Regions from separate parts of the Homo sapiens genome. Here regions 1, 2, 3, 4, 5 and 7 are each linked to region 6. The links are contacts of gene promoters, found by promoter capture Hi-C in blood cells and fetal thymus (Javierre and others, 2016). All regions are on one chromosome and are shown on one strand. The core of a region is centred on a gene start or on the middle of the fragment in contact, and the rest is flanking DNA. Distances in the headings are between cores, read along the strand shown. Region 1 overlaps CSNK2A2 (casein kinase 2 alpha 2). Region 2 overlaps LOC105371293 (a long non-coding RNA gene). Region 3 has its middle 32 kb from the start of PRSS54. Region 4 overlaps PRSS54 (serine protease 54). Region 5 holds the start of CSNK2A2 (casein kinase 2 alpha 2). Region 6 holds the start of CNOT1 (CCR4-NOT transcription complex subunit 1). Region 7 overlaps CFAP20 (cilia and flagella associated protein 20).

Region 1 (2,935 bases), core at 58-2,557, 450 kb after region 6:
CAGGGAATGTTGGCATGAGACTCTTGGGGTCTGGACAAAGCACGCAGCAGAGTGAGGAGTCACCTTGAGAACCTGAGGTTACCACCAGTCCCTGTGTGAGGAATGTTAACTCTGGGGACATTGTGTTCTTAATGGTGTCCTGTGCACAGCCACATTGGAGAGTCAGTGGCATGGAGATAGAGAAGGGAGGTATCATTGTCAGCTCTGTAGAAAGCAGACAGGTTGGTTTTGGCTTTACAGGCTAAGGTGGAGTAGGGCTAGAGAGGGAAGAGTGGAGGCAGCAAACACGGGCTTGTTTTGTCAGAGCTGTGGACTCCTGGGGGTACAGTGAAGAACAGAGCTACAAAAGTCGGAGGAAGCCAGACTGTGGACCCTGCATAGTCTTGAATTTTGGGCCCAGGCGGTTAAATGTTACAGATGTAGTTTGGTCTCCTCCTACCCGGAGATCCTGAGAAGTGAGGGTGAATGGCAACCAGTCACTTGGGACTTTGTAATATCTTAGTCCTAAACACTAGTGTACAACTGGTGTCTTTGAATTAAATTGTTAATGGTTTTTGTAGCTAGAAATACTGTGTTGGCAGTCCAGAGACATTTATTTTTATGGCTTACACCATTTATACAGATGCATGGTGTAGGTACCACATGATGAGGGAGGCCTTCCACAGATAAAAGTCCTAATGAGATAGCCCATGTTAGTTTTCTGGAAATAAAATATTCCAGCCCTCTAAGGGTTAGAAAATTAGATCTTTTCTCTTTCATAGCGTATTTATTGACTTGAAGTTCAATTTAGCCTAGTCTCTGTGAGTGATTTCCTTAACTCACAGAGGAGGAGCTGCTTTGACACCCAAGAGATGGCATCTTAAGCCTGTCTTTACATTCAAGCTGTCAGTGTGCAGCCAAGTCCTGGCTAAGAAGCCTTCTTGCAGCAGAGCTGGGAGAAGAACAAAAAGCTTGGGTGTGTGTTATGTAGCTGAAGCTCTCCTGAGCAGAAGTGGTGGCTTGTTGGTGTTGTTCTGCCTGAATGGGGGTCAGCTGTAGCCAGGGCCAGCCACCCAACCCCACAACACCATGTACTGGCCTGTGCATTTCGTTCCCTGCGCTGCCCTGAGGTTGATGAAATCAAATATTTTTCCTAAGCTGGCAGGGGGAATTACTCTTACCTAAAGGGGGAAACTTGAGAAAGCAAAGACCTGGTATTCTTAGAAAATGTTAAATTTGGTTCTTGGCAAATTTGATTTTTTTATTAAATTTTTTTGAACATTATATGTGGATCAAAAATATAAAATGGTAGACAGTGAAAAGTCTCTTTTATTCCCCTGTATTCCAGCTGCCTATTCCTTTACACATATATACGTGAAACCAGTTTTTATTACTTCTGTATCATTTTTGCAGATACAGAAAATATGGATGTATAGTTTTTATTTTCCCCCTTATTACAGAGACACATTATATACACTGTTCTGTGTTCCCTGGAGAGATTCCCTACATTGCTTGAGTCTCTCTTTCAATAGAAGAACAAGAGAAGTTTAATAAAGGTGTGTTTCTTAATTTTATAGAAAGCATGGCTTGGATTGATGGGAAAACAGATTTACATGGATTTGATTGGATATCAAAGATAATGAGAGTTCCTGACAAGGGTTTATGATGCCTTTAATGAAGCTTGTAGCATTAATGTATTCTGACTCTTAGAAATTTTTTAAAAACTCCCAGCGAGTGGGTCTCTGGATTACCAATAATGAAAACTTCCATTTACCTATCAGTTTGGCCAGTGATCATTTTTGATACCCCTGTCTTTTTTCACTCCTAAGACGTCAGGTGTTGCCTGTGAAATGTTCTTTTTTTCCAGTCTGGAATTGGTTTCCGGGGAGCAGAGGGTATAGATTTTTTTGTAAGCTCTTGCCATCTGCAAATGCTATAGCACCTCCTTTTTCCTTATTTTTCTTTTTTGAGAACAGCCTGTGTCGCCACTGTTTTACCACAGTAGCCCATGAAGTTCTTCAGAGCTCTGCCATCCACTCAGAACTCACTTCTCTAGAGTATACTGTGGTGTTACAGTGGGGTTAGTTTTCTTGATGTTCGGTAAGAATGTGAAGACAGACAACTTAGACTTCACAATGGTGTAATTGTGGTTAATAATTGTAATTGGCAAAATCACAGAGCATTAAATAGGAAAGATCTGAGTTGGCTTAAATGTTTTTCTCCCTTGGAATTCCTTCCATTTTTTTTTTTCTTCTCTTCTGATGATTAAAATATAAAACCTTCATCTTTAGTCTTCCCATTTATTTCAGATCAGGTAGTAAAAAAGTCATGGGATTCCTTAGTCACTTAAGTATCAAATAAGCTTAGAGAATGGCCTGCACTTAGGATGACAAGATGCAGTGAGACTAAATTAACTTTCTGTTTTCTGGAATCTGTTTCAGCAACTCTACCAGATCCTGACAGACTTTGATATCCGGTTTTATATGTATGAACTACTTAAAGTAAGTGGTGTTCATAAACCATTAATTTTTTTCAGGCCTGTTCATTAAAAGATAAGTTTTTGAGAGAACAAAGAGAACTTAAGCAGAATGTTTCTTGATACCCAGAGGATTTAGTGAAGTTTTTAAACTTATATTGAGGCCTCCATCGAGGAATCTTCACATAGAAACTTTCCAGTGGAACTGGGAAAAAAGTGGCCAAGTCAAGGGGTACCAGGGACATTATACCTTAGAACCTCCCATAGCTCTTGTTGGTCCATATGTTTTCTCTTTGCTGCTTTATTAATACCTACTGTGAATGTAACAAATCATCCCAAACTTAATGACTTTTAAAAAATGATTATTGTTTCTTATAATTGAGTTAGCCAGGTGATTCTTTAGGTCTCAGTTGATTTGACTGGGGCAGGATGGTCCAGGATGACCTCATTCACAATCTAGGACCACAGCTGGGGCAGCAG
Region 2 (2,700 bases), core at 65-2,564, 390 kb after region 6:
ATTAATCCTGAAAACCTCCATATCCCAGGGATAGCTCCAGAGACGTGGATCTGAAAAAGGAAATAAACAGACCCTGGCTCAATCCTCAATCAGTAGAGTCTGTCACAGCTGAGCAACATATATCGCTTTAATCGATGTTAAGGAAGAATTGAGTTAGTAAGGAAGAGGGATATTTCAAATATTGGCAAACAAAAAAATAATAGTAATAACAGCAAACATTCGAGTGCTTTGTCCCCTAACCCTGTAAAATAAGTACTATTGTAACCAAGTATCCCAGCCTCAAACTGCGTTTTAAAACATTTTTCCCTTCTTGCTTCCAGCCTTGAAACATACTTTGAAACTTTTTGTTTTGCCTTTTCCCACCAGCCACTTCTATGAACAGTACTCGCTTATCTAATTATGTGCTTGCTTAGAAATTCCAGGGATCGATTTTGAAACAAGCCAGGCAGAGAGACCCAGCTGTGGAACCCTCTGATTAGGGGGAGTTAGGAGCAGTTAGCCCACCACTACCGCAGTCAGCATGATGCAAACCGGTCCTCCAGACAGGCGATGACTCAAGATAACAAGACCTCCTGCTGCACCACTCCCGCGTTTCTCTCACCTTTTTCCTTCTTAAACCCCTTCACTCAGCCCAAAAAGTTAGAATGGTCTTTCAGAGGCATGGGCCTGTCCATTCCCCAACTGCTAGCATTTGAATAAAGTTGCTTTCCTTTCACCACAACTTGCTTCTTGTGTTTTTGGCCTCCAAGCGGTGAGCAGCTGGACTTGGCCAGTTACACTATTACTCACCTCATTTGTATAGGTGAGGAAGTGAAAGCCAGAGAGGCGATGTGAATTACTCAGTCAAACAGCAGGTGACATGCAGAGCTAGAGCCGAAAGCTTGTACCTTTAATCATTACTCATTCCTTTCCATCCCAGTCCTTCTCCTATCCATCCAAAGCCATTCCCACTAAGGTGTTGGAAGAGTTCATTGAGATTACATTTAACCAGGTACCAGGCATGGAGCAAGCTCTGGGTTATTATTTTCCTAGATTAAAGGCCTGACTATGCAAATGTGCATCTCTAAAATGTAAGAAGCTTAGTACATTTTCCTTTGTACTGCCTTCTCTTGATATTTTCCTTTGTAGTGTCTTTCCTTGATCCTGCTCGTCTTCAGAAGTGAGGAGGAGACAGAAAAAATATTTGAAGAAATAATGGCTGAATTTTTCCACATTTGATGAAAATTACAAACCTATAGATCTAAGAAGTTCAACCAACCTCATATAACAATAAACATGAGGAAAATGACACCAAAGATACCATAACTAAATTGCTTACAACTAGGGATAAACAGAAAACCTTAGAAGCAGCCAGGAAAAAAAAAAAAGACACAGTATATACAAAGAATCAAGGATTAAAATGATAGATTTCTTGTAGGTAACAATTCAAGCTGGTAGAGTTCTGAAAGAAAAAAAAAAACACCTGTCAAACTAGAATACTTTACACAGCAAAAATATCTTTTAAAAATAAAGACAAAATAAATATTTTTTTCAGATATTCAAAAGCTTGAAAGAATTTGTTGCCAGAAGAGCTTCACTATACAAGATATGTTAAAGGATGTCCTTCAGGCAGAAAGAAGATGATACCAGATGGAAATCTGGATCAACACAAAGAAATGAAGAGCACTAGAAATGGTAACTAAGTGGATAAGTAAATATATTTCTCTCATTATTTAATTTTCTTTGAAAGATAAATAACTTTATATAACAAAAATTATGTATTGTAGAGTTTACAACATTTACATTGTAGCTAAGCACGGTGGCTCATGCCTGTAATCCCAGCACTTTGGGAGGCAGAGGCCAGTGGATCACTTGAGGTCAGGAGTTTGAGATCAGCCTGACCAACATGGTGAAACCTTGTCTCTACTAAAAAAAATATGAAATTAGCCGGGCGTGGTGGCACATACCTGTAATCTCAGCTACTTGGGAGTCTGAGGCAGGAGAATTGCTTGAACCCAGGAGGCAGAGGTTGCAGTGAGCCCAGATCGGGCCATTGCATTCCAGCCAGGGTGACAAGAGCAAAAAACTCCATCTCAAAAGAAAGAAAGAAAGAAAAAAAAAACATTTACATTGTAGAGTTTATAAGTGAAATGTATGACAATGATAGTAGAGGAGAAATGGGAGTGTGATGGTATAAAGTTCTTATACTATACATAAAGTGGTATAATAACACTTGAAGATAGACTGTACTAAGTTAAAGAAATGTACCATAAACCCCAAAGCAATGACAAAAATGACACAGCAAAGACATAAAACTAAAAGAGTAGCTTTAACTCTAGACTGAATGTCTAGACAATGTGGTAGACAGAACAATGGCCCGCAAAGATATCCAGGTTCTAATCATTGGAACCTATGAATATTACCTTGTAAAGGGGGAAAAGGTCTTAACAATTTTAGCGATTAAGTTAAAGGTCTTAAAATGGAGTGGTTATCCTGGATTATGTAAGTGGGCCCTAAAAGCAATCACAAGTGTCCTTACAAGAGGGAGGCAGAAGGAGATTCTACTACAGAAGAGAGAAAGCAATGTGACAACCTCAGCAGAGAGAGACTTGAAGATGCTATGCTGTGGACTTTGAAGATGGAGGAGAGGGCCTAGGAGCCAAGGAATGCAAGGAATGAAGCTCTAAAAACTGGAGAATTCTCCCCTTAAGCCTCTAGAGA
Region 3 (2,719 bases), core at 58-2,557, 300 kb after region 6:
TCTTTTCTTTTTCTTTTTCTTTTCTTTTTTTTTTTTTTGAGACAGAGTCTCTTGCTGTCGCCCAGGCTAGAGTGCAGTGGTGCCATCTCGGCTGACTGCAACCTCCACCTCCTGGGCTCAAGCGATCCTCCCACCTCAGCCTCCCAAGTAGCCGGGACTACAGGCATGCATCAGCATGTCCAGCTAATTTTTGTATTTTTTAGTAGAGATGGGATTTCATCATATTGGCCAGGCTGGTCTCAAACTCCTTACCTCAGGTGATCCTCCCACTTCAGCCTCCCAAAGTGCTGGGATTAAAGGCGTGTGCCACCACCTGGCCAAGGGATGGAGTTTTTTCAGTGGTAATAAAAATGTTCTGGCCAGGCATGGTGGCTCACGCCTGTAATCCCAGCACTTCAGGAAGCTGAGATGGGCGGATCACCTCAGGTCAGGAGTTTGAGACCAGCCTGACCAACATCGAGAAACCCCGTCTCTATCAAAAATACAAAATTAGCCAGGCGTGGTGGCGCATGCCTGTAATCCCAGCTACTCGGGAGGCTGAGGCAGGAGAATCACTTGAACCCGGGGAGGCAGAGGTTGTGGTGAGCTGAGATCGTGCCGCTGCACTCCAGCCCAGGCAACAAGAGTGAAACTCCGTCTCAAAAAAATAAAAATAAAAATAAAACAAAAATGTTCTAAAACTGGTTATAGTGATGGATGCACCAACCTGTGAATATGGTAAAAAACATTTTTGCACCTTAAGTGGGTAAATTGTATGGTGGGATGTGAATTATATCTCAGTATATCTGCTTTTTAACAAAACCAACAAAACACCTTATGTCTAACTTGTTGAGCTCCAAATAAGCCTTTGAGTTGTGATATTTATTGTTTTGCTAAAGTGTTTCACTCTGGGAAGTTTAACAAAATGAGCACCTCACCTCAGGCAGCTCTCAAAGGGAAAACAAAGTTCCTCATCCTTACTTCTTGGGCAGACTTAACTGACTGCTGTATTTTATTTTTCTTACTTCCAGAGTGTTTTAAGAGTAGGCATTTTCCTCTGAGTACAGCTCTAGTGTTATCCATGAGTTTTTATATGGAGTGTTTTTATTAGCATTATTTCCCAAATATCTTATAAATGTATTTTTGCTCTAGAGCAGTTCCATAGAAAGGCTTGACATTCTCAAACGTCTTTCTGCATCTACTTTTTATTTTATTTTATTTGTTGCCAACTACAAAAGACATCCAATGCTTCTACTTTTAACTTATTTCCTGCGTTCTTGCATTATGATCAGGAATATGACGGTACAATTTCCAATTTCTTATATACAATGGGCTTTCCTTTTTATTTTATCTCATTGTGTCAAGAACACTTAACATGAGAGCTACCCTCTTAATAGATTTTAAAGTGTACAACACAATACTGTTATTTATAGCTACATTGTTATACAGAGGATCTCTAGAACTTTTTCCTCTTGAATAACTGAAATTTTATATCCACTGACTAGCAACTCCCCATTCCCTCCTCCCTCCAGCCTCTGGCAACCACCATTTTATTCTTTCTTTCTATGAGTTTGACACCATATAAGTAGAATCATGTATTTGTCCTTCTGTGATTCGCTTATTTCTCTTGGCATCCTGTTCTCCAGGTTCATCCATGTTGTCACATAACAGGATTTCTTTATTTTAAAGGCAGAATAATATTCCATTGTGTGTATTATTTATTTATTTAGAGAGAGGATCTTGCTCTGTCACCCAGGCTGGAGTGCACCCAGGTTGCTCGGCACACTGCAACCTCTGCCTCCCAGGCTCAGGTGATCCACCCGCCTCGGCCTCCCAAAGTGCTGGGATTACAGGTGTGAACCACCACTCTGGCCTCCATTGTATGTATATACCACATTTTGTTTACCCATTCATCAGTGGACATCGTTATACCTTTTTCCATTTAATTGAAAAGAAGTCTACTCTTTTCAAAGGATACAGTTCAGAACATTTAGTCATTATATTCTCCTCCTCTGTAATATCCTTACTTTCTTTTCTCTATTTAGTCCAACAAAGACTGAAACAAGTGGGTGAAAGTCTACCACCACTGTTGTATTTTTATTAATTTGTCTTAGTTATTCCCTCCAATTTTACATATGGAACAGGATGCTAAAATGGGACTCTTGTTTTGGCTTCAGCTGAGACTCCGAAGTGGAGTGAGATCAGTGCAACAGATGCCAAGAACTCTACCTCCTAAATTGGGGAGCTAGATTGCCTATGTAGGACATGCTGACGGGCTGTAAAAATGACTAATCCCACAATGCAGAGTAAAAGAGATAAAGTACAAAGATAACTTATAGGAGATTTATATGGTAAAATTTTCTGCCATTGTTAAAAGCTGTACTTTTGAAGAACAATAATATGGAAAAAAAGATCATAACATACTATTAATAGGAAAAAAGCACAGGACGCAAAACTATATGCTTAATCCTAGTTGTTTGAAATACACGTACAGAAAAAAGACAGGAAACAAATAACCTAATTGGGACTTCAGGTACTTTTTCTTTTCCTCTTGACATTTGTCTGAATTTTAGAAATTTTCTACAATAAATATGTGTTGGTTTCTTTTTAAAATTTTTTTTTTTTTGAGATGGAGTCTCACTCTGTCACCCAGGCCGGAGTGCAGTGGTGTGATCTCAGCTTACTGCAACCTCCGTGTCCGGGTTCAAGTGGTTCTCCTGCCTTAGCCGCCCAGGTAGCT
Region 4 (2,921 bases), core at 402-2,901, 340 kb after region 6:
CTCCTTTATGCTGCTTTTGATTTGGCCTTCATTTTGGTCATGGTCTTGTTTCTTTCCTTTTCGCTTCTTTGCTGAGAACATGCTCAACGAGCTTTTTCTGAGCTCTGTGGCAGTCAGTGTCATCTATAACTCTTGCACTCCTGCCATCCTTCCTTTCATCAGCCCTTCCTTTGACTCTGAGATTTGGATTCTTTAGCGTCTCTTGGTTTTACGGTGTTTGTATTTGTTCCTCATTCTCATAGTTTCTTGGGTGATTCCCAAGAGGAGAAAGGGAAAACATCCAACTCAATTCTATTGTCATTAGAACTTCAATTTCTCCAAAATGTATTTACAGAATATATAATAAAGAAAGATGCCTGTTTTAAAATGTAAATACTAAAAGCAGGAGTCAAGATGACATGTTTGGTAGAACTGCAATTACTACTTTTGCAAACTACAATATGTAAAAAAAAAAAAAACTATTCATAGAAAAAACATTAATCAGCAATAACATGTTAACAGATTTTCTTTAGTGGTGGGGCAAATGGTGTTAAGATTAAAGAATCTCCAGGATTCTGCAGGCTCACAAAAGAGGGCACAAGCCTAGGGGTTCATAAAAGATTTCCTAGAAACTTGAGTCCAAAGGGGTGAGGAAGAATTAACACAGGAAATATGAGCTGGATGAGTGTTCCAGGCTGAAAAAACTTAAATGGGAAAACAGGGAAGCGTGAAGCTTCCTTGCTGTCTTGGCTTCTCAAGATTCCCTTGCTCTCTCTCCAGGAAGGACATTGTCGTTATAGTGGGTATAAGTAACATGGATCCTAGCAAGATTGCTCACACAGAGTATCCAGTCAATACCATCATCATCCATGAGGACTTTGATAACAACTCCATGAGCAACAACATAGCCCTCCTGAAGACAGACACAGCGATGCATTTTGGCAACCTGGTCCAGTCCATCTGCTTCCTCGGCAGAATGCTGCATACACCACCAGTCTTGCAGAACTGCTGGGTGTCAGGATGGAATCCCACATCTGCAGTTAAGGCATTCCTCCTCCCAGAGAAGGCTGCGTGTGTGCTGGCAGTGGGGGTGACCTGGATAATCCAATCTAGGGCCTATCTTAATTTAATAATGGAGTTTGCTTGAGGTTCTAGAGTTTGGCTGAAACCCTTACCTAATCAGTCAAGACTCCCAGGGCTTTCTGTAGCCACTCTTCTTCTTCTTCTTCTTTTTTTTTTTTTTTTTTTTTTTGAGACAGGGTCTTTTCCATGCAGTGGTGCCATCACGGCTCACTGCAGCCTTGAACTCCTGGGCTCAAGTGATCTTCCTGCCTCAGCCCCGAGTACCTGGGACTACAGGCACATGTCACCATGCCTGGTTAATTGTTTTAAATTTATTTTTGTGGAAATGGGGTCTTGCTATGTTGCCCAGGCTTGTATCGAACTCCTGGGCTCAAGCAAGCCTCCCACCTCAGCCTTCCAAAGTGTTGGGATTACAGGCGTGAGCCACTGCACCCATCCAGTGGCCATTCTTACATCACATTGGTCCTTTACCCTCTAGCCCTACACCAAAACTGGAAGTACAGAGGCAGTGGACACCCTGGAATGAATACAAGTGTACAGAGAGGTGAGGGGATGTTAGTCCCCGAACTACGGCTGATTGTCCTCTTGTCTAAGCCATCGTTGTTTTCTTTCACTTTGGGGAAAGAAAGAAACAAGGAAATGGATACTCTCTAGAAGAGGAGGAAGGGTGTTCTCTGCCTGTTTGCACATTCAAGTTCAAAGTGGAGGTAGTTTTCAGTAAAAACTCAGTCACAGGTTCTTATTTCTATGAAAAAAAGGGATTTATAAGAACATTCCTGGCAGGGCACAGCGGCTCATGCCTGTAATCCCAGCACTTAGGGAAGCCAAGGCAGGTGGATCACTTGAGGTCAGGAGTTCGAGACCAGCCTGACCAACATGGTGAAACTCCATCTCTATTAAAAATACCAAAATTAGCTGGGCGTTGTGGTGCATGCCTATAATCCCAGCTACTCCGGAAGCTGAGGCAGGAGAATTGCTTGAACCCGAAAGGCAGAAGTTGCAGTGAGCCAAGATCACACCACTGTACTCCAGCCTGCGTGACAGAACAAGACTCCAACTCAAAAAAAAAAAAAAATTCTCACTCTCGTTTGGCTATATGAGTGGGAGTTGTGTTGACATAGGGGACTGCCTTCTCGTTAATAATCCCTGGGCTCTCTGTTGCATGGTCCAGACAGGAAATCACATGACGATGAGTGTCCTGAGGAAAATCTTCGTGAAAGATCTTGACATGTGTCCCCTATACAAACTCCAGAAGACAGAATGCGGCAGCCACACGAAAGAGGAAACCAAGACTGCCTGCTTGGTAAGAACATCATGGAGTAGAAGCTAAGTGTTGAGAGTAAGCCTTGGTCACATCCAGGGGAGCCTCAGGACTCCCCTTCCCTAGATGGGGAGCTCTGTGAGGGCAGGGCTTGGGATGAGTGGCTGTCTCTGGAGTGAATAGCACTTGGCAGACAGTATGCGCTCAATAAAAATCTGCTGAATGAACTAACCAGTCACGATTTTCAGTGTAACATGATGAAGCTTGTCTAAGTCACAGGTGCTTTTTAACTAGCTAAAAATTTGAAAGTCTGAGTCCAAACCACAGAGGCCGATATGCTTTGAGCAGGTCTACAGTGTGGGGCTGCTGTATTCAGCTTCTAGGGAACCTAGACTCCCCTCTGATGCTATCAGTTACTGAGTTTTTCTTCTCTGAGAAGCCCTGCCCTCCACCCAGATGAGGGCTGTACGGATGTGGCTGTCCTACTGCCTCAAAAAAAAATGTGTAGAAGTCACACACACCTGGTTCAGGCCCCTTCATATCCAAATCTGGAGAAAGTGTGGCTTACTAGGGTCACACAGTCAATAAAAGTTACAGC
Region 5 (2,700 bases), core at 3-2,502, 430 kb after region 6:
TCCTAATAGTGAACACCATCCTAAGTGTTTCACATGGTTTACCTTGTTTAATTCTCCTTGCAGCCCTGTGAAGTGAGCGTTATTACTGGTTTTATGCTGTAGAATCTGTGACACAGAGAGGTTGAGTAATTGCCCTAAGGTCACACAGCTTCTAAGTAGCAGTGCTGGATAGATCTGACTCCACAGACTGTGCTCTTAGCTGTGTCAAGCAGGAAGGCCCAGGGTTTCATCCAGAAAACAGAATGTGAAAAGGGACTGGAATGAAAGCAACCTGTACTGGGTGCAGAGGTGCTGTCGATAAAGGATGAGGGATGGGAAAGGAAGACAGAAGAAAGGCCTAGAAGATCAAAGGAGAAGGGTGTTCAAGGCTGCAGGCAGCACTGGAAGCCAGGCCAGCTCAGTTGACCACCTACTCTGGGCACATCCCCAACCCAGCCTGTCCCTTCAGGTCGGATTTGCAATTCTCCTGCTCTCCCTCCTCCTAAACACAAACAGGAGATTTACACTCTCAAAGTCTCTCCCCACAAATGACTTATTAATCACAAAGGGAAAAATTGTAACTTTGCAGTGGCACAACCTGGTCAATGCCAGCTTAACCAAGTGACCAAAGTGGATATTCAGGGAAGGCTCTGGAAGGGCATTTGGGGGAAGTGTAGAAAGGTTTTGTGAGGAGCACTCTGAATGACGGGGGTAGGAAGCCTTGGGGACTGAGGAGTCTACCCTAACAGGGCAGGGTCCAGAGGGGGAAGGAGGGGTATGTCTCGGGGGAAGGGAGAAGTATTGAGGTGGGGGAGGTTCTGAGGTTTGAGTGAGGCCCTGGGGAGGGACTTGACAGTTTGGGTGACAGGAGGGTCAGAATAGGGTCAGTATGGGATGTGTTGGGTGGGTAAAAGCTGGGTGAGTGCAGGGCTGGGGATAGGGTCTCCAAGGACAGTGAAAGGGTCGGGAGTCGCGGGCGAGGGCTCTAGGGCAACGGCCAGTGGAAGGGGGGGCTCCTGTGGCGTGAAGTCAAGCCAGCCCGAGGGTGAGGCGATTTGGACAGTCCGACCTGTGGCGGCGGGAGGGCGAGGGTGGCGGAGGGCGCGAGGTAGGCGGCGGGGCGTGCCGGGGCGGGGCCGGGGCGGGGCCGGCACCGCCCGGCGGGTCCCCCCGCGCTCCAGGGGGCGCTGTGAGCCTGGGCGGCCCCAGGCCGGGCGGCGGCCGCTCCCAGTGAGCGCGGCCCCTTTTCCGGGTTTCCTCCGCCTCCTCCTCCTCTCCTCCTTCTTCTCCGCTGCCGCCGCCGCTGCCCCTTTCCCGGCCGGTGGCTGCCGCTGCCGGTGCCGCCGCCGCCGCCTCCTGGGGGCCGCGAGCCGAGCGGAGACCGCCGCGGAGCGCGAGCGCCGCCCGCCCCGCCGCCCCGCCGGCCGCTCCAGGGCCGGGCCGGCTCGGCCGGCGCCCCCCGCGCCCCCAGCCCGCCCGCCCCCGCGGGCCCGGCCTGGCGCGGCCGCCCGCCGCCGCGCTCCTCCTCCTCCTCCTCCAGCGCCCGGCGGCCCGCTGCCTCCTCCGCCCGACGCCCCGCGTCCCCCGCCGCGCCGCCGCCGCCACCCTCTGCGCCCCGCGCCGCCCCCCGGTCCCGCCCGCCATGCCCGGCCCGGCCGCGGGCAGCAGGGCCCGGGTCTACGCCGAGGTGAACAGTCTGAGGAGCCGCGAGTACTGGGACTACGAGGCTCACGTCCCGAGCTGGGGGTAAAGCCGTCGCCGCCCCCCGCCGGGCCCGCTGATCCCTGCCCCCGCCCGGCCACCCCCTGCGAACCGCACTCGGGCCCGGTGGTGTCTCCCGCCGACCCCTCCGCGGGCCCGCAGGGAGGCAGAGGTCCCGCTCTCGCACATGTCCTCGTCTTCCTCTTCCCTCCCCTTTACCCCCGTTTCGTCCCTTTCTCCCCGCTTTGCGCACCCCTTTCCCCCAAGGAATGCTTTTTTACTCGGGGAGAAGTGTGGGGTCCAGGGATCGACGCCGGGTGGAAGTGAGGGAGCTGCCCTTCCTCACACTTCTGGGTTTCCACTGGGGTGGGAAGTCAACAGCTGTCCTTTGGAGCTATTAAAATGCCCTGCCTTTTAGGTTTTCTGAGATGAGGTGGTGGGAGGAAATTTCTTAAAGACGTCCAGATTTTTAAAACAGGCATTGTCTACCTTGAAGATGTGAAACGAGAAGCAGGTGCTGGGGAGCCGCGGGGCACAGGGGGCACCCTCTAGGCCTTCAGGACGGGTGCTTTGCTCGCCCCTCTGGATTGGCTCAGAGCGTTGCCTTCCTGCCCCATCTTCCCAAGTTAGGAGAGACCAATTAGGTTAGGAGCTCTGCAGAGTGAAGGGAGCCAAGATTATGTCGTGGCTTTCATTTAGGGAATGAGTTGTGACGTGATGTATAGACACTTCCAAGTGTTTGCCTGGTGGAAGCGGCTGAATGACGTGTACAGTGGGCATAGGCTTGGTTAACCCCCAGTCCTGGCATTTATGTGTGTGTCTTCCTTTTACAGTAATCAAGATGATTACCAACTGGTTCGAAAACTTGGTCGGGGAAAATATAGTGAAGTATTTGAGGCCATTAATATCACCAACAATGAGAGAGTGGTTGTAAAAATCCTGAAGGTGAGTGTCCTATGAGTGGTATGTAACATTTTCCTCCCCACAGGGCAAAAGTTTGTAAGGTACCCCAGTCACATT
Region 6 (2,700 bases), core at 183-2,682:
CAAAGTGCTGGGATTGCAGGCGTGATCCGCAGCGCCCTGCCTTTTTTTTTTTTTTTTTTTTTTTGAGACAGAGTTTTGCTCTGTCGCTCAGGCTGGAGTGCAGTGGCGCGATCTCTGCTCACTGCAACCCACGCCTCCCGGGTTCAAGCGATTCTCCTGCCTCAGCCTCCTAAGTAGCTGGGATTACAGGTGTGCGCCACCACGCCCGGCTAATTTTTTGTATCTTAGTAGAGATGGGGTTTCACCGTGTTAGCCAGGATGGTCTCGATCACCTGACGTCGTGATCCACCCGCCTCAGCCTCCCAAAGAGCTGGTATTACAAGCGTGAGCCACCGCGCCCGGCCTTAATTTCAAAAGGTAATAGAGCTAACCAGTCAACACTTCCTTCCCAATCCTTTCTCTTTTGGGTACAGGTGAGTATAAAATCTTACCAACTATCATAGTTAACAAACAAACCATAGCAAAATATGTTTCTATGCTTTTTCTCTTGAGAGCAAAGGACATGGGTATCCTTTCTTAGACGGCTTCTAGGACTTAAGCCAGGAAGAGAACTTGCGTCTCCTACGTCTCTGGAAGGCGTCTCTGGAAGGTGTCCCTTCTTCAATAGACAGAACTAAAACAGAAAGTTCCCTTGACCAAAGCGAAGCAAGCGAGGACAAGGTGGCCACCTGGGTGACTACAACCCCCAGCATGCACTGCTCCTTCTAGGGCGCAGCGACGAACGAAGACGCATTACTTCTGCGATGGGAACGGGGTAGAGGAGCGCGACTACACATCCCAGGATGCAAAGCGCCCCAACTCTAGTCACAACCTGGCTTGCTTTCTGGCTGGCGTTCCCCGCCAAAGGGACACTAGGGGAGGGGATTGTTTCGGTTGGGAATCCCCGAAGTCTACTGGACCGTGACATTTCGAAAGAGGAAGGAAAGTGGAGGAAAGCTGTTTCACTGTAATTCAAAGTAGTTCCCGCGCAGGGTGGCGAGGAGTTATGGGCCCCTTCCATAATTTATTGTTCCTCAAAGGCAATGCCAAGCCCCACTGGTCGCAGCCCTCCAGGGCAGGTGGGAAGTACGTGAAGCCCCAAATCGAAGTTATCAGCCTCTCCCTATTGGCCCTCGCCTCGAGCGCAGGCGCGAGGGCTCTGACTCCGGTCCCCTGGGCCTGGTGAGCGGCAATTGGCCAAAGTCCGCGAAGTAGGAGGCCGGATTGGTAGTTGCTAGCAGGAGCCTGATTTCTTCCTCGACTTCTGCAAGTGATAGAGTGTGATTGGTTTAAATCCGCGGGCACCTGTCGGTGATTGGGTAGAAGCCACAGGCGGGGCGCGGCCATTGGCTGGCTCTGGGGCCATCCCTCCTCGGGCGGGCAGCGAATGATGAAATGGGAACGGGGAGGGGAAAGGCCGCGACGTGAGCGCGCGACCTCCGGCGCCATTTTGTAGAGAAACAAGCGGAGTTAACCGAAGAGGGGGTCGAGGAGAGCCGGAGTCGGGGACCCAGGAGTTTCCTGTGTCCAGCGCTGCCGGAGCCGCCTGAGGTGAGGCGGGTTGGCGTCAGGGGCTAGGGTAGGGTGGCGGTGTCAGCTTGGGAACGCGAGAGCCGGTGGGAGGAGGAACAGGGGTGGACCTGGGGCCACTGGAAGCGTTTCCCGGAGCTCTAGGGAGTGAGAGGCAGCCGGGACGGGGAAGTGGGACGAGGCGGGAGAGGGCGGACTCTTCTCCACACGGCTCTCGGAGGCTTCGCGCTCTGAAGATGAGAGGCCAGCGAGAAGGCTCCAGGAAGCGGAGGGTAGAGCGCGGGGTGAGACCCATGGTGGTCTCTGTCCCGGGCCTGGAGGCTCAGGGGGCGGCAGCGGCGGCAGTTCGTGTCGCTGGGCCTGGCTTCGCGCGGGTTGCACCCCTCTGAGACCTCCACGACCTCCTTAACTACTGTTTCTGTCTCTGCTCCCTGATGGTTGCAGTGGGCATCGGCTTCCGAGGCCTAGGGCTTCTGGCGGGGGGGACCGTGTTTGGAGTTTTTGCATGTTTCCAGTTCTTCTCCGTGTACTCGGAGCTGCCACTCTCCCCGTCTTACGCCCCCAGCACGTTGTCAAAGCCCCCCAGGTTTCGGGTGTCCCCGGATGGGAAGGGCGGGCGGGAGCAAGCACTTCCTTATTACTTGCTACAGGTTTTGTTCCACTCGCGCGCCTGGGCGCTCACACTTTCTTTGAAGTTGGCCCCCACCTACTCGGTCCGGTGTCTGCAGTAGTGGCGGTCCTGCTCACCCAGGACAAGTGTCCCGCTAGTGAGCTGAGCACTTGTAGGCCTCAAGGCTGATAAGATCCACGGCAGGTCTTGTAGAGGTACTTAAGGCCAAACACAAATAATACTTTTTCAGTACCACCTCCTTTGCAGAATTCACCCAAGAGGGCTCACAGATACTAACTCCCCGAGGAGTAAGCTTTGTAGATTAAAAAAGAATGCTTGACATCTGTGCGTTTGAAAATGTTGTATTTAAAATAAACTTTATGACAAACTTTTCCCATGAAGTTAATCAAATGTCACATTTCTTAGGACTCTAATAAAGTCTGTTTTCTTCCTGAAAACTGAGTAACAATGCTTAACCTACCCTGCCGATTTCTCTACAATTCGATAGCCTGTGACTACTTGGGTTTTTTTTTTTTTTTAAGTCAGTGATTGAGTGAATATAATTATACTGTTTGAAACAA
Region 7 (2,848 bases), core at 196-2,695, 510 kb after region 6:
CTAAGCCCTTAATGTGGCTCTAAGGCCACATAACCCATGCTCTGGCACCTGCTTCACTTGTTCTCCAGGCGGGACTCACTTCACCCGGTTCCCCCTCTTAGTAGTAGCCTCCTACTGAATTGAAGGAAGTCCTGTTCTCTCACCTTCAAGCTTTTGCACTTCCTGGTCCTTCTGCTGGGCGCTGCCCCTCACCACCCCACAAGCCTCACTCCCATCTTTTCATTAGGCTCCAGTCACAGTTCAAAGGCCTTTCTCAGAGTGACCTTCCTTAACTCTTCAGGGTAAGTTAATTTACTTCTTTCTTATCACACTTGACATTATTAGCTTCTTAAGGTCTGTATTCCTGGCTATACAGTTTCCTGATAGAAGCTTTTGTAAGTTTCTAAACCAACAGCTTAGAAGAAATTAGGGGTTTCTTTAATGTTACCTTGACATCTGGGACCAGCAAATCTTATATTTATTAAAAGACTCTTACGTTTAATGTAAACATTACTTCTGGTTGTAAGGAAAATACCAGGAGGTTCTGTTCCCACTTATACTTGTGTAAAACATGCTGTAATTTTCAGTCTTTTTTTTTTTTTTTTTTTTTTTTTTTTTTTTTTGAGACAGAGTCTTGCTCTGTCCCCCAGGCTGGAGTGCAGTGGCACGATCTCGGCTCACTGCAGGCTCCACCACCTGGGTTCACGCCATTCTCCTGCCTCAGCCTCCGGAGTAGCTGGGACTACAGGCGCCCGCCACCACGCCCAGCTAATTTTTTGCATTTTTAGTAAAGATAGGTTTTCACCGTGTTAGCCAGGATGGTCTCGATCTCCTGACCTCGTGATCCGCCTGCCTTGGCCTCCCAAAGTGTTGGGATTACAGGCGTGAGCCACTGCGCCCAGCCAATTTTCGGTCTTAATGGTAGTAATCCTGGCTGGGCGCAGTGGCTCACGCCTGTAATCCTAGCACTTTGGGAGGCCAAGGCGAGCTGAGGTCAGGAGTTCAAGACCAGCCTGACCAACATGAAGAAATCCCGTCTCTACTAAAAATACAAAAGTTAGCCGGGCATGGTGGCACATGCCTGTAATCCCAGCTACTCGGGAGGCTGAGGCAGGAGAATCACTTGAACCCGGGAGGTGGAGGTTGCGGTGAGCCGAGATGGTGCCATTGCACTCCAGCCTGGGCAACAAAAGCAAAACTTTGTCTCAAAAAAAACAAGATAGTATCCTAAAAGTACATGAGATGAGATTGCATTAATTCATGAAAACGCCTTTGTCTGTCTTTCCTGTCACCCTGTCTTTCTCTCAGCTGCTGCTGTTTCTCCCCTACTCCAAGACTAAATATTAGACCAGAGTCTTCTGCTGTTGCTGGATAGTGTTAGATTCCCATGTCCTGTTCTAATTTTAAAAATAAAGTCTCTCTTCAGAAAAAATTTCCTACATTCTAGTTTTTAGTTAGCATGCCTTGTTGATAAAAATTAAATTGGTGCTGTTTTCAGTAGTAGAATTGAGTGTATTTGGACATAAAGGTGGTAAAACTTTTTTTCTGACTTGGAGAATGTTCTTCATTATTCTGAGTCAGGTTTTACTGTAATTGAACGAAGACATGGTTTTTTGGTTTTGTTTTTCTTTTTTTTTGAAACAGAGTCTCGCTCTGTCACCCAGGCTGGAGTGCAATGGCACAATCTCAGCTTACTGCAACCTCCTCTTTCTGGATTCAAGCAATTCTCCTGCCTCAGCCTCCTGAGTAGCTGGGATTACAGGCATGCGCTACCACACCCAGCTAATTTTTTTGTATTTTTAGTAGAGATGGGGTTTCACATGTTGCCCAGGCTGGTCTCAAACTCCTGATCTCAGGTGATCCTCCCACCTCAGCCTCCAAAAGTGCTGGGATTACAGGCGTGAGCCACCGCGCCCGTCCGAAGACATGGGTTTTAATTACACTTGCCTTTTCTTAGCTGTGCACATAATTGTCCTTACGCTGACTTAGGGGTTGTTGGTGTATGCCCAGAGTTGCTTGTCTGCTGTCTGGATAGCCCCTGTCAAGTACAGCGAAGGGAGTGAAGCCTTTGACCCTTGGAGCCTGGGAGTCTGAGTCGGAGCTATGCTCAGTTCTCCCCACAGGGGTCTCCCTCTGCCTAATTTCTGTCTGGGAACCCAGCCCTTAACCCAGTGCAGGAACTTTCCTGCTGAAATGGACAGCTCTAATGGTTTAATGTAAATTAGAGCATGTGTCATTAAAGCTAGGATGCCAGATGGCTGAGGGTTCAGCTGCCTGCCAGGCTGAGTGGGTGGGGCCAGAAAAATGAAAGTTGGGGGAGGGAATGGATACAACTCATGTTATTTTTAAAGCAGTCATAGAAATATACAGCATCCACCAGCTCCCTCCCTATCCCAGTAGTAGTATTTTTTTTTTCCCTCAGCTTGACCCACCTCCCTGAGGCTTACATTGCGGGGAGGGAGAGAAATCGGTGTTCTTTATTAGTTGCCCTAGCAACCATGGAAAGCCTGGGAGAGTGATTGTAAGACTGGCCTGAAGCTTTGGTCACCTCTGTTGTCTGCAGAGGCAGAGAACCATTATGATCTGTAATTGCCAGTAACTGGATTCTGAAGCTCTTTGAGTATCTCCAGCTCATGGGCAGGGGAGGGGAAATTAATGAAATAAAACAATATTGGCTTTAGATTTTTATTTTTATTTTATTTTTTTTGAGGAATAAAGCACTCATAGGCCACACTTTGATAGTGGGAATGTGTCATGAATGAAAAAGAATTAACAAATCAAAAACAGTCGGCTCTTTGTGATCTAGAGAAGGACAGAACATGTTAAAACCTGCTTCCGCCATGAGCAATAAATGCTGAGCAGTTCATTT

What was found. Contacts are between HindIII fragments. The CHiCAGO score rates a contact against its expected background, and 5 or more counts as called.
Region 1: a fragment that was not itself captured here is called in contact with the fragment with the promoter of CNOT1 in region 6 in 3 of 17 cell types (M2 macrophages, total CD8 T cells and M1 macrophages); the score reaches 6.7 in M2 macrophages.
Region 2: a fragment that was not itself captured here is called in contact with the fragment with the promoter of CNOT1 in region 6 in 2 of 17 cell types (total B cells and non-activated CD4 T cells); the score reaches 5.4 in total B cells.
Region 3: a contact is called between a fragment that was not itself captured here and the fragment with the promoter of CNOT1 in region 6, in 1 of 17 cell types (M1 macrophages). The highest score is 8.6, in M1 macrophages.
Region 4: a contact is called between a fragment that was not itself captured here and the fragment with the promoter of CNOT1 in region 6, in 1 of 17 cell types (fetal thymus). The highest score is 5.1, in fetal thymus.
Region 5: a contact is called between the fragment with the promoter of CSNK2A2 here and the fragment with the promoter of CNOT1 in region 6, in 7 of 17 cell types (total CD8 T cells, naive CD4 T cells, monocytes and 4 more). The highest score is 7.1, in total CD8 T cells.
Region 7: a fragment that was not itself captured here is called in contact with the fragment with the promoter of CNOT1 in region 6 in 1 of 17 cell types (monocytes); the score reaches 6.0 in monocytes.

What each region holds. Positions count from the first base shown.
Region 1 is chr16:58,173,996-58,176,930 of GRCh38, reverse strand. It overlaps CSNK2A2 (casein kinase 2 alpha 2), which reads left to right. Exons shown (of 12, transcript NM_001896.4): 5 at 2,421-2,480. Among named protein-coding and RNA genes, the nearest start is that of CSNK2A2, 23 kb to the left of the region's middle. The HindIII fragment of the contact is 709 bases long and covers 953-1,661 here.
Region 2 is chr16:58,241,744-58,244,443 of GRCh38, reverse strand. It overlaps LOC105371293 (a long non-coding RNA gene), which reads left to right. Exons shown (of 4, transcript XR_933630.2): 3 at 1,535-1,674. Among named protein-coding and RNA genes, the nearest start is that of CFAP263, 6.8 kb to the left of the region's middle. RefSeq lists an enhancer at 877-936. The HindIII fragment of the contact is 467 bases long and covers 1,081-1,547 here.
Region 3 is chr16:58,325,618-58,328,336 of GRCh38, reverse strand. No RefSeq gene overlaps it. Among named protein-coding and RNA genes, the nearest start is that of PRSS54, 32 kb to the right of the region's middle. The HindIII fragment of the contact is 4,072 bases long and covers 1-2,719 here.
Region 4 is chr16:58,284,034-58,286,954 of GRCh38, reverse strand. PRSS54 (serine protease 54) reads left to right here. Exons shown (of 7, transcript NM_001305173.2): 5 at 760-1,018; 6 at 2,234-2,365. Among named protein-coding and RNA genes, the nearest start is that of PRSS54, 9.5 kb to the left of the region's middle. The HindIII fragment of the contact is 1,874 bases long and covers 715-2,588 here.
Region 5 is chr16:58,196,658-58,199,357 of GRCh38, reverse strand. CSNK2A2 (casein kinase 2 alpha 2) reads left to right here and starts at 1,252. Exons shown (of 12, transcript NM_001896.4): 1 at 1,252-1,725; 2 at 2,514-2,625. The coding sequence starts at 1,622. RefSeq lists silencers at 899-1,028, 1,079-1,348, 1,749-1,818. The HindIII fragment of the contact is 2,827 bases long and covers 1-2,700 here.
Region 6 is chr16:58,628,558-58,631,257 of GRCh38, reverse strand. CNOT1 (CCR4-NOT transcription complex subunit 1) reads left to right here and starts at 1,432. Exons shown (of 49, transcript NM_016284.5): 1 at 1,432-1,530. RefSeq lists enhancers at 565-1,054, 1,345-1,554, 1,003-1,678, 1,679-2,355. The HindIII fragment of the contact is 12,291 bases long and covers 1-2,434 here.
Region 7 is chr16:58,121,350-58,124,197 of GRCh38, reverse strand. The region is part of intron 1 of CFAP20 (cilia and flagella associated protein 20); the gene reads left to right. Among named protein-coding and RNA genes, the nearest start is that of CFAP20, 6.6 kb to the left of the region's middle. The HindIII fragment of the contact is 2,148 bases long and covers 372-2,519 here.